2 separate regions of the Homo sapiens genome follow, and region 1 is linked to region 2. The links are contacts of gene promoters, found by promoter capture Hi-C in blood cells and fetal thymus (Javierre and others, 2016). All regions are on one chromosome and are shown on one strand. The core of a region is centred on a gene start or on the middle of the fragment in contact, and the rest is flanking DNA. Distances in the headings are between cores, read along the strand shown. Region 1 holds the start of TBC1D9 (TBC1 domain family member 9). Region 2 has its middle 3.6 kb from the start of SETD7.

Region 1 (3,813 bases), core at 965-3,464, 1.2 Mb after region 2:
TGAATCCCTGAATTTTTCACATCCTATTACAAATGACACAGGTAAATGAATACTTAATGCTTACAAGGTGTAGGAGGGTTAATTGCAGAAGGAAATGTTCTCTTTTTACTACAATAAATTATCTACTCTGTGTTGTTGTCCTAGGCTTAAAGGACTACATGGGCCGGGTGAGGTGGCTCACGCCTTTAATCCCAGCACTTCGGGAGGCCAAAGTGGGCGGATTATTTGAGATCAGGAGTTCAAGACCAGCCTGGCCAACATGGTGAAACCCCATCTATTAAAAATACAAAAAAAATTAGCCGGGCGGGTTGGTGCATGCCTGTAGTCCCAGCTACTCAGGAGGCTGAGGCAGGAGAATCACTTGAACCCAGGAGAAGGAGGTTGCAGTGAGCCGAGATCACGCCACTGCACTCCAGCCTGGGCGACAAAGCAGGACTCTGTCTCAAAAAAAAAAAAAAAAAAAAAAAAAAAAAGGACAATGTGGGCTGATTCCAATATTAGATATGTAAATTACATATTAACATTTAGAGTTAGATAACTTCTACAAAATGACCTGGAAAATCCTGGTATCAGATCACTAGTAAGTATTTCCAGAATGGGGTCTGGAGCTCTGCAGATTTATCTTTTCTGGTAGAATCAAGATCCTTCAAACATACCAGTATACATTGTACCACATGACACCTGAATTTTAATCTTAAGAAAATTAGTTTATAAATATAATCATAAGTAAATACATATATCAAGAATCTTTATTTCATAGCACAGCATTTGAAAGCAACAATTTACCTATTGTGCAAACTCCAGGTGATATATGAGGTTGATATAAGCTCAACTCTGAGGAGGGTCAAAGTTCATCTCTTTTTTGCAGTCTCCTTTCTAGTGAAACCTCTACTATTTCTTCTGCTAACTTTTTCACTGTAAAAAGTATTCCAGTTCTGTTCATTCTAAATAACACAGAGATGGAGAAGGTCCAATTTCTCTAGTATGGTATGAGTTCGAGATTATTTCTAATATGGCACTACTTTGGATATGGGTCTGACTGATCTTATTATCCTGAATGATATGACATGGCTTCAGCAACAATTACAATAATACCTTGAAGGGAGGGGGTTTAGGGAAGAAGTGATTGAGCAAAAATAGTTAAAATGCAGTTATACAGCCAATTATTTTTACAACTAGAACCAGACAATTTGCTTTGCTTTATGTCTAATTAGGTGAAACAAAAAAATTCCTGTTTCCGTATTCATTCTCTTCGGTCATAACTCATATAGGAAATGACCACATCAGTTCCTTACTTATCGCTTCCCTGGAAACAAAAGAGCATTTTATACCTGATCCTGCTGTTGCCAGTAAAGAAAGTGGAGCAAAAATTAACCTTCTTCCATCCCTCTTTTCCATTTGGAAAACAATATTTTTAAGGGGGGGAGGGGAAGGGAATGATGCATTCAATATATAGGGGATAATACATTCCCTCCGCCCCAGACTCACTCTTTCCCATTCTCCTCAACATATCCACTTAAAGAGCGCTCAGTACGCTGAGGGCCCCAAGCCTGACAGAGTCAAAAAAAGAAGCATCTCTGCCCAACCTGAACATCACGACTCTCGATGCCTCGCATACAACGAGGCAGGGCGGGTCGCCCAGCCCCAGGGGACCGGGCGGCGTCTCCCGAGCCTGCAGCCCAGGCCGCGGGCGGCGCCGCAGCGCTCCCGGCTCCCCTCCTGCAGGGATCGGCCACGGTCCTTACCCGCCAGTCCGCCGCCGCCGCCTCCATCGCCGGCGTGGCCCTTCCTCCGCTGCAGGATGAAGTATGGGTTGGCCCTCTCGGTGATCCACAGCGCGTTGGCCAGCAACACCTCCTCCGGGTTCACCCACATGGTCCTGGCTGCCGCGGGCGGGCGCACAATGGGCCCGTGGGTCCAGTCCTGCACCCACCACCGCGACAGGCGCGCACTCCTGGGCACACGCGCGCCCGCCCGCCCGTCCGCTAGGTGCGGCGGCGGCGGCGGCAGGCGACTTCAGGGGGTGGCCCGCGGCGTCCGGGCCACAACAAAGCCCCAGCAGGCGGCCCGGGAGGACGGTGAGGACGCGGGCGCGGCAAGCAGCATCCTCCCCGCGGCGTCGCCGCCCCGCGAGAGCCCGCGGCCGCAGACGCCCGGCCTGGCACTCTGCAGCCCGGCTCCCGGCCCACGGCGGCGGGAGGAGCGGGAGGAGGAGGAAGAGGAGGAGGAAGGGAGCGGGAGGAGGAGGAAGTGGTATAGCTCAGTCCCGGGATCCGGCTCAGCGCCAGGCAGGGCTAAGGGCCACCCGAGCGGATTCGGCCCCGCGGTCAGGGCCAAGCTGGGCTCCGGCGCTGCTGCTCCCGCGGCGCCGACTGGAGCTCCAGAGCCCCTCCCGTCTCTACCTGCTCGAGCTCCCGAAGTCGCCGCGCCTTAACGCGCCGTGTCGGGGCCGCAGGCGCCACTAGGGAAGCCCAGCTCCCCGCTGGAAGGACGCTCCGGACACTGCGAATGAATGACGACAACGCGGCTCACTTGGAGCGGGTCCGGGTTTGTGCGGACTCGGTACCACCGCGGGCTCCGCGCGCCGAGCTGAGCAGCTGTGGCTGGCTTCGGGGGAACCTTCGGGGGAAGCTCCTGGGGACCGTGTGCCAAGCACTGGGCCCGACGCCCATCCCAGCAGGGAGGACGCCGCCAGCCTGCGTGGGTGCGTGTGTGCTGTTTGTGTTTAAGGTTGACGCTCTATGGGATAGCGCCACCCCTTTTCCCAGGAAAAGTGTTTCAAGGTTCCAGACCTGGAGCTCGGTTAGAGACCCGGGGTCGGAAGCCAACGCAGCCAATGGTCGTCGATGTTTTTGTTTCCTGCATCCCCAGGGCAAGTCATGCGCTAAACTTGTCACCGCTTGTGACCCCTCCCCCCTCTCCATTCCATTGTAATTAAAGTGGCCTAGCTAAGTGCATTACATCACTTCTTTCCTTGACCTGTAGGGCGTGAGCAATAGAGAAGTTGGAAGCGGCCCAAAAGCTTAGACCAACTAATTCACACCACAGCTGTTCCTATATCGCATTTGGGGCTTCGAAAACTGGGCATGGCAGAATTTTAAAATTTATCCACTCTTGGTAGATGGATTTTTTTTTTAATCAGTGAAACCAGAAACACACAAACCAGGGCAGCTTTATCCCTAGACAGTTTCAGTTTCCCCAAATACTTCGAGCTTCCAGTGGTGATCACAGCCCATCTGCCTACATATCTGATGACCATTTTTTTTTCCTCCCGCCCAGGAGATCTGGAGGATAGTTCAGCCAAAAAAAAAAAAAAAAAAAAAAAAAAAAAAGTTCCTCTTCCCAAATGATGGGAATTTAGCAGACTCTGCTTTGTTGTGGATGCTGGGCAATCCTAGGGACTTTTCCCTTTCCAAATGAGCAGAGATTCAAATGAAACCTTCTTGTGTGGGCTTCAAAATTGTGACTTTTGTAGCTCCGACTTGAATTGTTGAATTCCTTCAATTAGTCGAATGAGCAAATCACCAGCCATTCTAATGAGACTGCCATTTCATCTGTTCGCTTCCTACCGCTTGGGCTCTCAAGGAATGGAAGTTTCCCTTGATGTTACCACACAGACTGATCTGCTTCTTCCAGGCATCAGTGGAAACCTCATGTATTTAACACAGACTCAAAAAACTCATTTGGCACTTTTGGTCACAGTGCAGTGCCTTCAGTCACAAAATCTGCAAATAAAAAGCAAACAATAAGATTATAAGTCATACATATGCAAAAATTATATTAATATATCATGTAACTTTTATATTTTTGAAG
Region 2 (4,038 bases), core at 1,270-3,769:
GCTGCTCACCTGCAGAGGTGTCTTGGGAGCCCAGCCAGCCAGCCTGAATTCCTCCAGATTAGAGGCTTAGTCTACATTGACATAAGGTCCTTGGGGCTTAGGCTAGAGCACTCTGAGGTTCTTTGGCTCAAGCAAGACACCCTCTAGCTTAGTCTATACCTCTCTGAAGTCTCTTGGCTTAGGTTTGACCTCCTTAAAGTCCTCCAGTGCAGATACTGGGAGTCCAAGGCTAAACAGAGAAGGTGTACGTGCAGTGGAAGATGAAAGAGCCACTTTAGGTTACATCATTTTCAAACATGAACCACAGAAACAGGATTTTATATCTGATTTTTAAAAAGCCATCATTTACTGAGCTCGGTCACTCACTGGTTTTGAATTATATGATATTTTTTCTCATTTAACCTTTTTACATATCACCCCCTCCCTTGCATATTATACTGGTGCACTAAAACATACCAGATACTCGTCTTCCCCAGTTTCCAGTTGATTTTCAGGGTGAAAAACAATGCTGAAAGCTGAAGGAAGCAGCAAAAAGACTTTATTCTCTTACTCAAAGGCAGTGAGGCAGGGCTGGGAGGCTGGAAGAAATCTCTCAAGACGTACAGAAGACACAGTTTCATGGTGGGTGGGTACGTGTGGGAGTGAAGGAGAGGGGAGGAATCATGTTGCAAGTGTCCAACTGTCCCCTTGGTGCTGTGAGGTTTTCCCAGCCTGTACTAAGCACCCAAACTGTCAAGCGCTCCCTTTCTACCTACTACCTTGAGAACACCTGAAACCCTGCCTACGGCACCCCCCAACCCCGGCCCCCGCCGTCGGTGAAGCAGGGGTCCTCTGGACCTACAAGAGGCAGGGACAGGAAGGGAGCAGGGTCTTTCTAGCAAAGTCAGTAGTGATGCGGGGTCAAACTACAGAGAACCTTCACCAGATCTGCACATGAGGCAGGCAGCAGCAGGGACACAGTCCCATCCCTCTTCCCCCACCATTCATTCCTGCTGGCTCTGGGCCCAAAGCTGGGGCAAAATGTTTTTATGACTCTCTTAAGATCCACTTGTATCTTTACAAATCATGTTGTGTATGTTTCGAGTCTCCTTCTCTAGACGGACTGATTCTTATTTATGGTCCTAGAACACAACACAGTGCCTGGTACAGAATGTGGGTTAAGCATTGTCAGCAATGATTTTGCAGATAGGAATATTCTGTTTTATATAAACAGTGCTGAGGCTTTCTCACAGACTGGATTCTCCTCCTATGTTTTGGCAAAGTGCTTTGTTTCAGTTCAAATCTGAAGAGCATTTTTGAGTTGTTCTACTTTCCCACATCGACTGGCCCCAAATCTGCTTCCATCGCATTCTTTCCCACAGTTTTCTTCATTGAGAGCTGATTTCATAAACTCTCTTTCTACTTGGCTTTCCACCAGTTTCCCCTGTCGTACTCTGTCCCCACCAATGTGGTCATGGGCTAGAAAATCAATAAAACTCTTAATCACAAACAATGTGCAGCAGCAACAGCAGCAGCAGAAGTAGTGTGGCTCAGCTCCTAACTTGGCAGATCCCAGTGAGACAGAACAAGCTCTACCAGGGAGGAACGGGACCGCACAGGACATCCAACATCTAGGCTGGGTGAGACTTGCTTTCATGTTCACACTGAGAGTGACTTTTTTTTCCCTGTCTTTGGTCTTGAATCAGGAGGAGGGGTGACTTTTCTAAGCTGCTCTGGCTTAGTTTCCATTGCCTCCAAGGCTATATTCCTTCTCTTCATACCCAGCTTGGGAAACATAATTCCCTCTTCCATTGCAGCAAGCAGTCAAAATACTGAGTTAATTTTATTCATTCTACCACCCCTGTCTTTCCCTGGAGAAGGCTGGTGCTTACATACAAGACTGATATAACTTTTGCAATAAATATATTTTTACAAGCTTCTTGTATTTTATGCACCTTCCTACATTTAGGGGAAACAATTCTGTCAATTCGCTGCTATGCATGCTAAGCGAATTGTGAAACAAGTAGTGAATGTGGAACTTATGTGGGATTCACTACTGTTGGCTGTTACTGACTCCTCATCCTGCCCGCTGGCAGGGAGTGGAGGGGCCCAAGCAGTCTTCTGGGTCTCCATGTATTTGGGAGGGAGGAGCCTCTGAGACCTCAGCGGTAGGAAGTCGCATCAGAGCCTCTCCAGAAGCCCTGGTGGCTTTATGGTTGCTGGCCTGGCTCTGGTTTCCATCACTTGCTTACACCGCCAGCAGGATGACAAGGATAAAATTAGTGAAAGACCTTTTAAATAATCATCAAGTCTCGTTTTGGCACTGCTCACTCCTTCACAAGATTTTTTCCCACCAAATTAGCCAGTTTGATTGAGTTTTTGCTTTGTCTGTTTTGGTTCCACCAAGAACTAGCCAAGCAACTGGGCAATTCAGTTCTGCGGGGGCCGGGGGGGGGGCCTTCGTTTTCCCATCTGTAAATGAAGAGTTGGGCTACATAAATTCGAAGCTCAAACCTTCTCTGTCCACCTTTTCTGGAGAAAAGGTAAATAGAGCCTGAGAAGCCCCAGGAAAAGGCACATAAAAAGGAAATGGGAAGAAGCCAGGGCAACTCCAACAAACTGAATACTCAAGTCCTCTCACGTTAATGGCTCTATCTGGGCAGGCAGGTGAGGGGAGAACCTTTATCTTGACTCTAGGGAGGGAAGCATGGAAGTTTTAGGAGAACCAAGGTTCCTGGGTTCTGAATCACTGAGTCACTAATCAAGTGGCTAACTGTGTTAGTGACAACTGCAGAAGCTGGAGGGAGGGGCTGGGAGAGGAGCAGCGAGGAGGAGACGGGTGGGGGAGGAGATGGGGATGAAAGGGAAGCGTTTGCAGCTTGTGGAGCACTGGGAAGAGCAGGGACATCAAGGGCACCAAATAAAGGTCCAGGGAGCAAAGAAAGAAATGGAGAAAATTCATTCTGCTGGAAATAGACATGAGTGCAGTCAGGAAGAAGACTTACAGATTCAGGGTGACCTGATTTGATTACAGCAACAGGAAGTGCAAGAGAGAGAGGGCAGAATAACCTGACCTAAGGAAGTGAATTAAATAATAGAGAAGACACCACAGTTGCCATGGTATTAAAATACCTCATGCCACATTAAGCTTCCTCTTTCTCTTTTGCTTGATTCTTGTTTTTGCAACATGTTAATGTTGCAATGACATGTTAATGTCATTGCAGGGTATCCAGTAAACTAAATTTAGACTTTCTGGGGCGGGGAGGGGAGGGAAGATGCAGCCCAGATCTCCCTGTTTGGGTCGACTCTGGGCCAATATTGTTCCTTCACAGAGTTCTTGGGGTTTTTTGCATTATGGGATATGAAAACTCTTATGTCAGGCTTGGGCCTAGTGAAGCTGCTGAGTGAAATGATTGAAAAAAAAAAAATGAGGCCAGGCACGGTGGGTCACGCCTGTAATTCCAGCGCTTTGGGAGACAGAGGCAGGTGGATCACCTGAGGTCAGGAGTTCATGACCAGCCTGGCCAACATGGTGAAACCCTGTCTCTACTAAAAATACAAAAATTACAAAAATACAAAAACTGGTGGTGCATGCCTGTAGTCCCAGCTACTTGGGAGGCTGAGGAAGGAGAATCACTTGAACCTGGGAGGCGGAGGCTGCAATGAGCCGAGATGGCATCACTGCACTGCACTCCAGCCTGGGCCACGGAGTGAGACTCCATCTCAAAAAAACAAACAACAACAAAAAAAACCCTCACACACACACACACACACACAAAGAAAAATTGGAAATAGTTTTCAAAGGGGCATCTGTTTTAGAAATTACTTTAGAAAAACAATAGGATTGCAGAAACTTGAAAAATAAAGACAAACCGCCACCAAAACCAAATGTGTTTTCATAGATATTATTTTCTCTAATTGTTTTTGAAAAATTACTTTACTAGGCTAAAATTAAGATTATTGAGTCCTGCAATTGGTCCTCTGCAAAAGTAGACATTGCAGAGGGCAGGTACATGGTATACTCTTTTGACACTACAATATCCAGGATGGGCAGAGGAG

Evidence for each region. The method cuts DNA at HindIII sites, captures the fragments that hold promoters and counts their contacts. A CHiCAGO score of 5 or more calls a contact.
Region 1: a contact is called between the fragment with the promoter of TBC1D9 here and a fragment that was not itself captured in region 2, in 2 of 17 cell types (total B cells and monocytes). The highest score is 7.7, in total B cells.

The regions. Positions count from the first base shown.
Region 1 is chr4:140,754,171-140,757,983 of GRCh38, forward strand. TBC1D9 (TBC1 domain family member 9) reads right to left here and starts at 2,215. Exons shown (of 21, transcript NM_015130.3): 1 at 1,746-2,215. The coding sequence starts at 1,875. RefSeq lists a silencer at 1,568-2,257 and enhancers at 1,913-2,555, 2,556-3,197, 2,688-2,737. The HindIII fragment of the contact is 6,603 bases long and covers 1-3,020 here.
Region 2 is chr4:139,557,799-139,561,836 of GRCh38, forward strand. No RefSeq gene overlaps it. Among named protein-coding and RNA genes, the nearest start is that of SETD7, 3.6 kb to the left of the region's middle. The HindIII fragment of the contact is 1,212 bases long and covers 1,914-3,125 here.